Linked DNA regions of Homo sapiens: regions 1 and 2 are each linked to region 3. The links are contacts of gene promoters, found by promoter capture Hi-C in human tissues and cell types (Jung and others, 2019). All regions are on one chromosome and are shown on one strand. The core of a region is centred on a gene start or on the middle of the fragment in contact, and the rest is flanking DNA. Distances in the headings are between cores, read along the strand shown. Region 1 has its middle 73 kb from the start of ANXA2. Region 2 has its middle 120 kb from the start of ANXA2. Region 3 holds the start of GTF2A2 (general transcription factor IIA subunit 2).

Region 1 (3,644 bases), core at 375-2,874, 670 kb after region 3:
AGGATCTTGTTAAATTGCAGATTGATTCATTAGGTCTGGGTTAGAGATTGAGTTGCTGCATTTCTAACAAGCTCCAGGGAACACCGATGCTGCTGGTCCAAAAACTACACTTTGAGGAGCTTGAGCAATTCACTGAACTGCAAAGGGCCTCTGTTTACCCATCTGTGAAATGAAAAGCTTGGAGTAGCCGGTCTTTGAGTGCCTTCTTTTTCCACTCCACCCCCCGCCCCTGAGACGGAGTCTCACTCTGTTGCCCAGGCTGGAGTGCAATGGCGTGATCTCGGCTCACTGCAACTTCCACCCCCCGGGTTCAAGAAATTCTCATGTCTCAGCCTCCGGAGTAGCTAGGATTACAGGCACCAGCCACCACGCCTGGCTAATTTTTGTATTTTTTAGCAGACATGGGGTTTCTCCACGTTGGTGAGGCTGGTCTTGAACTCCTGACCTCGGGTGATCCACCTGCTTCAGCCTCCCAAAGTGCTGGGATTACAGGCGTAAGCCACCACGCCCGGCCTAAGTTCCTTATCTCCAACAGTGAAAGAAGTTGTCCCTTGAGCAAATATAACTAGGTGCATCCTGAATTTTTCACTAGGACAGTTGTGAATATCTTCTTCCCTTCATCCCGCAGGACTGCACGCAGGTCCACAATGAGGAAACAAAGTGTGAGGCCAACCAAGCAGCTGACATTCAAGCAGCCACTTCTCAAGGGAAAAAACACCCCTGAAAGAGAACACTCTGCTCCAACTGGCATTTCTCCTGGTAGTGCATGATTATAACGATGTACATCATTTTCTTTTCCCAAAAGGAATAGATTTAGCAAGAACCTGAGGCTAATTCGCCCATTAAGGGAACAAAGAGTGAAATAAGGGAGGAGAATTGACAGAAATATTGCATCCGTAAATACCTTGCCAAAGAGCTTGCAGAAGTCAGCTCTCGGCACAGGGAGTCTCAGTGTCTTCGACAGAATTTGACTTGTCCTGGCTACTCCCTTCTGTTTGTTTCTCCCGCATGCTTTTCTGCAACACTAAAAGGTAGGCAGAAGGACAATATTAAAAGATGGGCAGAAGCAGCTCAGAATGCCTGGGCTGACTCCAGTGGCCGCCTAAAATAATGGGGAATCTATAGACATCTTTTCTTGTTTACCAGTGGTGGGCAAATGCTGCCACGCTAGTTCTGTAAGAACATGAAACATGTGTTATTCACCCTGATAGAAGAAAAACTGTAAATGCGCTCTAGTTCAGTTAGGGTATCAGATAAGACCGTGAGTGGCTGTTGGGTTCAATTCTCTATTTTTGCAAAACTGGGCTGGAATTATTTACTTTTAGTAACAATGCATTCGCCCCACCTTCAAACATTTTTCTCCTCCTTCTTTCCTTTTACTGGAAGAGAGTTTCATTTGTTCACAAAACTCTTTTTCTCACTTTAATTTCCTTTAAATTCAGTCCGTTTTGACTCCTAAGGAAACTTTCATTTTTAAAAAAGGACCAAACTCCTTTGTTTTTCTCTTAGATGGATGATGCCCTGCCCTGCTCTCCAGCAGCCCCCACAAAGTTAGGAGGTTTTGTTTCTTAAATTAGGCCAGAACTAGTCATTCTGATGAACTCCAACTCCAATCAAGGACATTGGCCAATCTGTCAGAACCTAAAATAAAAATAAATCCACTAGCAGTGTCTTCCACTTTGAATGTTTATCCTGCTGGGTGCCCCTCTTTCTTTCTGCAATGGAAGAACCCGCTTCCATTTTGCAAGTCTGTGTGTGCCCCCTCGTTTGGAGCCATTTGCAATCTCTTGCACTCCCGTTTCAAGGTGGAGCCCCAGCCAAGATGAGTTTCTCTGAAGAGCTGCTACCCTAATTCCTCCCGTTCACTTCGAAGCTTGTCAGGGGGACCCAAGCAATAAGAAGGTCAATAGGAAAACAAATCCCACCTTATTAAGTCTTGTTTGATCTTAAAACCACATCATCCGAGATTTCAGCGACATTATGCTGGCTCCGCACAAGAGGAACAGAGTTTTCTTATGAAAATAAATTAGACAAGCACACAGAAGAAAAAGAAAATGATGTGCAACGGTTAAAATGTTTGAGAGCCTTACATGTGGCCAGCGAGCTCAGCAAAGGACACTGGTTTCTTTTTCTCTCTTCTTTAGTCTTTTATTCCCTACTCTCTGTTCTCCTTGCAGCAAAACAAATATTTTTCCTACCACAAATATTTTTAAGGTGCTACTTTTCAATTAACGATGTTTTATTTCTTTTGTGTGATGGGGTTTTTCTTTTTCGCACTGAAATGATAAAGACACTGAAGATGGCAAAGGGAAGCCCTAGGAACAGCCTTGCTACAATCCATCAGCTGCGATAATATCAAGATGAATATATTGTCAGGAATCTGTATGTAGCATTTCATTTATCCTACCCACTCTGCTAAGAGCGGCTCCCCCGGGGATTACATTATTATTCAAGCTTCCTGGACTCACTCCAAATGCATATTGCAACTACAATTCAAAGGGAAACTTATAAAAGGTGATAGGAAATAGACCTTCTACAGAACATTTTTTAAAAATTAACCTTTTCAGAGTTTAATTCCATCCTATATACCTATAAATAGACCAGCTTTCAGGAACTAAAAACTAATCCTATAGTAATAACACAAAGCTCAATTTCTCATTCCATACGATCATTAATATTACTTTAAAAATCACGAGAAATCTCTTCAACTTCTTAAGCATTGTAATTCATTTCTGTACACCAATTCAAGAAACCTCATTAGTTTAGGTGGCCTTTTTGCAATACCATCCAAGGCACGCAAATATTTGGAATTTTTACCTTAGGTCAGAGTTTAAGAAAAAAATGATTTCTCATTTCCAGAAAGGATTTATGAATGTAGAAAAATGCTTTTGTGACAGTGACATGTTTGTGTTACCTAATTCACAAATAAAATAAGCTATATAGAATATATGAAGTAAAAATCAAAAGGAAAAAAGAGAAAGGATTTTATATAAATGGTGGATAATTTTTAAGTAAAAAAAAATCTTGTTACATCCTTAACATTTTTAAATCTTGTTACATCCTTAACATTTTTTTCTATAACCCAGTTTCAATACTCCAATCAAATGTAAGATGGAAGAGCTTTGATTTGAGAGAAAAAAAATCCTTTGAACATTGATCGACATGTGATTTGTGCAATTATTTAACCTGGATTTAACTCCCTCTACTCTATGCTCAAATCACTTGATTGACTGAGATGCTGTTTCCATTGAGCTGGGTTTACAATTATCTTTAAACAAGCGAAACTTCAAAGGCTGCTCAATGGGTATTTTCCGTTCTTCATGAGAACTCGTAAATGTATAACCTGCATATAAACAAGTCACTCTACCTAATTAAATGGAATCTCTTCCTCTCTATTAAAAATTTAGAAGTGCTGCCTGGGTATAAACATGTCATCTCAGAAGGTGGGAGGAGAGACCCTCTTAACGTCCGTGAACAACCAGCTGAATCTCCTTTAAGCAAAGCCACGTTAATAATAGCACAGACACATAAATTATTCTAATTATTTTATTATCAGTAAAGATTGGTTAAACGGAAAGGGTGTTCATTGTTGGCAATTATGCCCTCAAGTTTTATCTGACTACTAGGGAAATGCAGTCCAGGGC
Region 2 (3,795 bases), core at 1,229-3,728, 620 kb after region 3:
AGTTATGCAATACTAGAAAGGGCCTTAAATTGCTAGTGTTCAAATTCATTAAGCTTTCTGAAGATTACATGGACTCTTTTAGAAAATATCAGCTGGTAATCTGTTGTACCTGATCATATCAATAAATAGATGCCTTTTGGATTCTGTCTCTACACACAAATCATTTGAGGCAGAAGACAACAAATTACTTCAAAGTGCACGATATTTTTAATGTAACCAACCACTTAACTCATTTTTTGCCTGATTTTAATTCATTCCATCCTTACCCCTCCAAAATTGGTACATGTATGCAGATATGATCAGAGTCATTTTAATAAATGTCTGGCATTGATCAAAGGAAATATCTGGTGACTTTTGTTAATTAACTAAAGTCCGTAGTTTAAGATTCACACCTTGTGTTGTATAGTTTTATGGGTTTTGACAAATGCATAATGTCATGTATCCACCATTACAGTATCACATAGAATATTTCCACCACCCTAAAATTCCTCTCTGTTTTACCTATGTATCCCCGCTCCTCTGACATTTTCCCCTCAAACCCTCTGGCAAAACTGATATTTTTACTGTCTCTGCAATTTTATCTTTGCTAGAATGTCATGTAGTTGGAATCATACGGTTTGTTGCCTTTTCACACTGTTTTGTTTCACTTAGGAATATGCACTTAAGATTCTTCCATGTCTTTTCACAGCTGGATAGCTCATTTATTTTCTTGTTCCTCAATATATAATTCCGGAATGCTCCTATTTCCTTTCAGTACTTTAAAGACCTCATTCCATTAACTCCTGACTTCCATTATTCATGCTGAAAAGTTAGCTGTATGTCTTATCGTTGTTTGTTGAAATAATTTCTTTCTGTAGTTGCTTTTAAGATTTTTCTCTTTGCCTTTGGTTTCTACAGTTGTATTAAGAGGGGCCTAGATGAATTTTATTTAAATTTATTCTATTTGGGGATTCATAAACCTTTTTAATTTTAGCTGACTTCATATCTTTTCTCATTTTTGGAAACCTTGCTTGGTAGCTCTTCAAACATTGGTTCTACCACATTATCTCCCTCTTTTCATTTATAAATTTTAACTGAAAATATTCCACTTTGTTCCATATGTCTCTTACATTTATGCTTTATTTTATACATTTTTTCTCCATGTTCTTGTCCGAATATTTTCTATTGACCTGTCTTCCAGTTCATTGCTCATCTCTTTCACAGTCTAATGTGCTGTTAAATCCATATATGAAGCTTTTAATTTCACTTACTATATTTTTATTTTTATAATTTCCACTTAATTATGTTTTATAAATTCTCATTTTCTGGTAAAATTTTCAATTTTAATATCTGTTCTTTAACATACTAATCACAGTAATTTTTAAATAAACTTTTTCATTTTAAAAGTTTTAGATTTACAGAAAAATTACAAAGATAGTACAAAAAGCCTCCATATACCTCACACTATAATTAACATCCAACATGGCCTTGGGGTATAGAAACATTTCTTAAACAAGATTCAACAAGCAGAAATTATTAAGAAAAAGTGATCCATAAATTTGACTATACTAAATTTTAAATTTTGCATAGCAAAAAAATACCAGGAGATAAAAACATAAGATAAAGATAAGGAGAAAACATTTTCAAATATAACTAACAAGGAATTAATAAATTATCTTTCTTTAAAACTTCCTCAAGAATGCTTATACACTATACTGCTCAGGTGATGGGTGCACCAAAATCTCAGAAATCACCACAAAAGAATTTGTTTATGTGACCGACACCACCTGTTCCCAAAAACCTATGGAAATAAAAAATTCAAAACATTATAAAAAATACTTATACACCGTTGGTAGGAATGTAAATTAGTTCAGCCACTGTAGAAAACAGTTTGGAGATTTATCAAAGAACTTAAAACAGAACTACCATTCAACCCATCAATCTCATTACTAGGTATATATCCAAAAGAAAAGCCATTCTACCAAAAACATGCATGTGTGTGTATGTTTATGATAGCACTATTCACAATAGCAAAGACATGGAACCAACCTAGGTACCCATCAATGATGGACTGGATAAAGAAAATGTGGTATATATACACCATGGAATACTAAACAGTCACAAAAAAGAAAAAATCATATCCTTTACAACAACATGGATGCAGGTTAGAGGCTATTGTCCTAAGTGAATTAATGCAGGAAAAGAAAATAAAATATCATATGTTCTCACTTCTAAGAGAGCTAAACACTGGATGCTCATGGACATAAAGATGGCAACAAGAGACACTTGGGATTACTAGGTGGGAAAGGATGGGAGAGGGGCAAGAGTTGCAAAACTAACTATTGGTACTATACTCACTACTTGGGTGACAGGATTAATCATACCCCAAATATCAGCATCATGCTGTGTACATGTAACAAACGTACACATGTACCCCCAAATCTAAAATAAAAGTGGTAATTATAAATTAAATAAAATAAATCTCCCTTAAATTAATAATAAAAATTAATTCAGTTCACAGTTGAGGGGAACAGAATGGTCAAGTAACAAAATGATGCTTAACTTTGGTAGTAATCAAAAAATGTAAATTTTTAAAACTCCTCAAATAGACAAAAAATTTAAAGCCCAGCAATATCACATAATGGCAGAGATGTAGAACAATAGGAGCTCTGATATAATGCTCATTTTTATCTTTTAACAAAAAGGCTTTGGAGAGTAATTTAGCAAAATTCTGTAAAAGTGGAGCTGTGTATATTCTAAAACCCAAGAGTCTCTAGGTGTCTGTTCTACTGAAAATCTTGCATATAAGCACAACAGACATGTACAAGGGTTATATAGCAATTATTTATAATAGTTAAAAATTAGAAACAACCTCAAGATGCCTCAATAAGAGGATCACTGAATCCTGTTATTTAAGTGGAATTATATTCTATATAAAATTGAATTCTATTCATTCAGTGAAATGGTACATAGTAGTTAAAATATTGATCCCACCATATGTGAATCAACAGACAAATCTCAAAAACCAAATAGTGACTGGAAAAAGTATGCTGTTTTTTGTAAATGTTTTTTGTGTTTAAAACACACAAAAATGTTACAAACATAACATGTTATTTAGTTTAAAATGGAAAGTGAAGAGAAATGGAAAAGAAAATATATGAAGTACATATCACAAAAAATATCAAAATTGTGTGTGCTTGAAATGCTTCATGATTTTTTAACATAAGTGTTTAGGTACAGTCTCTGCAGAGATCTGAAACTACTATGGGTCAGACAAGGAAGCTTTCCTTCCATGTTCACAGTCAATGGGCTGGTGCCCAGGCTAGTGGGGCAGTTCTGCCATGTGCAACTGAGTGTTTCCATCTCTAACACCCACCACTACATCTACAGAATATGCAATGTAGAGCAGGAAAATGTCCAGGAGGAAGTGCGTTATGCCTTTTAAGGGCACAACCTGAAATTGCCACACATTTCTTCCTCTCACTTCCCATTGGCCAGAACTTTGCCACTTGACCATATCTTGTAAGAGAATGTGAGAGATGTTACCTCTGGCTGGGAAACCGCATGCCCAACTAAACTCTCCAGTTCAATTATTAAAGGAAGAAGAGAAGAAGGAATACAGCTGGACCATTAGCTTCCTCCACCACAGGGTGAATAGGGTGGAACCACGACATAGGTGCAGCACTGGCATTTATAGAGAGGTAACTTGTCCTTTTGCCTTAATCTCAGGATGCAGCCCCACAGCGTCCCTGCTCATCTTTCTTCTCATAGCTTCCTTGTCCCTAGTCTTACTCAGCTCCCCCTCATTCCAAAAGC
Region 3 (3,863 bases), core at 172-2,671:
CCATGGCTTCTATCAGCCTTTACAATGATCCGGCTACCATGATCTCTTTGACTTTATCTTCTTGTCCCTCCACCCCCAAAACTCTTGCTCATCCCTCTCCAGATACACTGGCTTCCTTGCTATTCCTCAAACATGACAGGCCTAAAAGCATTTGTATTGGCTTTCCTATCTGCCTGAATGCTCTTCCTGATATTTACTTAGCAAATTTTCTTAATTCCTTCAAGTCTTTGCTCAAATAACACCTACTAAATGAGGCTCAAACTGACCACCGTCATCTTTAAAATACCAGTTCCCACCTCCACTCTGGAACTTTCCCGTACTCCTTTATATTTCTCTTTTTTTTTTTGATGGCACCATCACTTTCTAACACCATTATATATTTTATTTTCTGCATCCTCTAATAGAATGTAAGCTCCATGAGGGCAAAGCTTTTTATTTTGTTCACTTAAGTAAAATAGGCGTCTAGAACAGTACCTGGCACACAATAGGAGCCAAAAAAAAATCTGTTCAGTAAACGAAGGCAAATATCAGTAAGTATAATATGCGTGTGGGAGGGGAGAGGGGGTTAAAAAGGGCAAGAAGTCCCAATAGGTAGATAAAAACTCCACAGAGTAGGAATACAGAATCGTGCATCGTGTCCCATTTGACAAATTTTTGAGTTTATCTAGAAAATAGCCCTGCGTTAAACGTTTGTTAAAAGTGCTGATTTCAATGTTCTTACATTCTTTAAAAATTCCTTGTTAAGTGTTCTAATCTTTTAGATGTGGTATCAGCCACAGAAATTTATTGTTCCCTTCTTGTTTTGCAGTTCAGAAAATTAGAAGTCAAATTCGGAAGTAACTCGTCCTAGCATTTTTTGATTAAACCACCAAGTTTAAAATTCGTTCCTTTTGTCGGAGTTCGCACGAAGAAAGTTGGAAGGCAGACTTCAAACAACAAGCTACAAAGCACAGGAATGAGACATTTAAAAAATGCTCTCCGAAATTCGGCAAAACTCACAGGGCGCTAGTGGATGCTTTAAGACATTCACCTGGCTGAAAATACGGTGGTGGGCTGAAGACCTCCCCTAGGTGGGTTCTGTGGGCGCCCCGTGAACGACGAGCCTCCCGCCACGGGACGCGACCATCACCGCCGCCTCGCCGCCCTTCTCCGGTGCCGGCCGCGGGGCCTTGCCGGCAACGGTCGGTAACGGGCAGATCCCAGGAGCGAAGGGCCCTCAGAGACTACCCCACCAACGCACTCCGACTCCGGGGGGGCGGCAGGGAGCGCGGCCCTGCTTCCCTCCCTAACCCTGCCCTCCCTAACCCACTACCTGTGGGGAAGGCGCTTCCCTCCGCGGAGCGGACAGAAGCCGCCACGAGCCCGGCAGGAGGTTCCTACTTCTCCGACCACCTCTCCAGCCGCCGCAGAAACCGCAGAACTGAGCTGACGACCCGGAAGTGCTCGCGGAACCTGGAAGTGACACCCCGCCCGAGGGACGGGAGGCCCCGCCCAGCCCTGCTCTCGCCCGCCACTCAAGCCTTGTCAGGGAAGGGCGTGGAGAGGGAAGGAGGGGCGTCGGGCTGGAGCTTGAAGCCTTAAAGTGGTGGACAGGCGCTCTGCTCGAGTAATTCACCAGGTTTACTAAATCGTTCCTAAGGGAATTATAATTTTTAGAGACTAATCTTCTCCATTGTTAGATGCACAATTTAAGAAATGTAGGGCATTCATATTTCATGCCGGAAGTGTGTTCAGGGTAACAGTGTTGAAGACCTTGCAGACGAATTCTGAAAAGATTATAGCAGGGGCCGGGCGCGGTGGCGCACGCCTTAATCCCAGCACTTTGGGAGGCTGAGGCGGGTCGATCACCGGAGGTCAGGAGTTCGCGACCAGCATAATATGGTGAAATCCTGTCTCTACTAAATACAAAAAATTAGGCAGGCGTGGTGGCGCATGCCTGTAATTCGAGCTACTTGGGAGGCTGAGACAGGAGAATGGCTTGTACCTGGGAGGCGGAGGTTGCAGTCAGCTGAGATCGCGCCATTGCACTCCAGCCTGGGAAACAAGAGCGAAACTCCGTCTCAAAAAAAAAAAAAAAAAAAAAAATTATAGCAGGGTAAGCAGGGTATCTTCTTTACCCCTCGAAACAGGGCTGCAGGCAAAGTTTTTAGTTTGTGACCAGTTCATGAAGAACTTTAATTTGGGAGAAGTTATATTTAAAATTTGCATCTAATATGCAAGATAAATACTTCACTATAAATTTCAAGTTTGCAAAATCACAAATTGTTTTAGGTGTCAGGGTGCATGGTACACTAACTGGCTTAAACCCAGCAGTCATGTGTAGAGCAGTTTATCCTACAAAATAGCTGAATAGTGATTAAAGAGTATGTGCAAAACAACAACAACAAAACCACAAAAAACACCAAGTGGTATCAGCTGGAACCTCTGAGCAGGTCTATGAACTAAACAAGTTCTTCTTATTTAAGCCATGTTTTCGGCCAGGGGCGGTGGCTCATGCCTGTAATCCCAGCACTTTGGGAGGCCGAGGTGAGCGAATCACCTGAGGTCAGGAATTCGAGACCAGCCTCAACGTGGAGAAACCCCGTCTCTACTAAAATACAAAAAAAATTTCGCTGGGCGTGTTGGTGCATGCCTGTAATCCCAGCTACTCGGGAGGCGGAGGCAGGAGAATTGCTTGAACCTGGGAGGCGGAGGTTGCGGTGAGCCAAGATGGCGCCATTGCACTCCAGCCTGGGCAACAAGAGCGAAACTGTCTCAAAAAAAAAAAAAAAAAAAAAAAGCCATGTTTTCATTTTAAGCCACTCATGGTTTCATCCTTGGATTCCCCATTAATTAAAAAAAAATCTCAACTATGAAACACAAAGTTTCATTATTGTTTTGATGTTAAAATAAAGCAGGCTGAACTCTCTAATCCCCAAAGAATAGAAGCACTTAGACTATAGAAAGGGAAACAAGTGTAAAGGTCTGAAATTATTTAAGAGGTTTATAGGATAATTCAAAGCAAAAATTTAGTAGCATAATGAAAGAAAAATGTGATAAAAAGACAAAGACGAACGTTCCAATTAATTTATTTAAATTCATTAATGTTGCAAAAAATATGATGTGCAACAAATCAAGACACAAGTTATATTCCTAACAGGTCAAAGAAAATATTACATCTCCTTAGTAAATCATGACCAACTCTGGTATTTCTTACAGGGACCACATTAATATCTTGCACACACAGACATCAGAACTGAATTTCTGACAGTACTCGGCTGGGCAACATCATCTTAAGAGTAGGAAAATATCACAGTACATTAATTTTGTCTAAATGACAGCAATGAACCTGTGGTAACAAAAGTATTTTTGGAATAGATATCAAAGTGTGTTAATGTCTTAACAAACTCTGAATTGTGTTCTGTGTGAATAGTGCTCCAAGGGCTGTGCAAGTCAGTGGCCCTGAACATCATCAATATTTACTAGCTAGGTTTACACAAATAAACAAGCAACTGTTAAACGGACATTAAACTTTACAAAGTCCACATACAAAAAGTGCAGTGTAGAAGCTGATGAATGTTATTTTCCAAGTTCCTCCTTAGCCAAACTGCATAAAAATTTCAAAATGCAAATATTTTAACTTCTTGTTAAACATGATTCTAAGACATCCTACAAGCCTAGTATCATTAATTTGAAAGCACGAAATGATTTTCATTTGGTGCTTACGTGCTTTATGTGAATTTTTCATAGCATTTTACTTAGTTCTCAAAACATAAATAGGTCTATTATAAATAGTTGCAACATACTGTTATATTCAAATTTTAGTGTCACTCCTTACTGTTAAACATGCCAGACTACTTTATTTTCAATTATCCTTTAGAACT

The links. Contacts are between HindIII fragments. The study calls those that stand out against the background at their distance.
Region 1: a contact is called between a fragment that was not itself captured here and the fragment with the promoter of GTF2A2 in region 3, in 1 of the 25 tissues and cell types used here (dorsolateral prefrontal cortex).
Region 2: a fragment that was not itself captured here is called in contact with the fragment with the promoter of GTF2A2 in region 3 in 1 of the 25 tissues and cell types used here (H1 embryonic stem cells).

The regions. Positions count from the first base shown.
Region 1 is chr15:60,322,810-60,326,453 of GRCh38, forward strand. No RefSeq gene overlaps it. Among named protein-coding and RNA genes, the nearest start is that of ANXA2, 73 kb to the right of the region's middle. The HindIII fragment of the contact is 3,315 bases long and covers 1-3,282 here.
Region 2 is chr15:60,275,021-60,278,815 of GRCh38, forward strand. No RefSeq gene overlaps it. Among named protein-coding and RNA genes, the nearest start is that of ANXA2, 120 kb to the right of the region's middle. The HindIII fragment of the contact is 5,023 bases long and covers 1-3,795 here.
Region 3 is chr15:59,656,094-59,659,956 of GRCh38, forward strand. It overlaps GTF2A2 (general transcription factor IIA subunit 2), which reads right to left and starts at 1,422. Exons shown (of 5, transcript NM_004492.3): 1 at 1,313-1,422. BNIP2 (BCL2 interacting protein 2) reads right to left here. Exons shown (of 10, transcript NM_004330.4): 10 at 3,053-3,863. RefSeq lists an enhancer at 1,229-1,458. The HindIII fragment of the contact is 8,151 bases long and covers 1-3,863 here.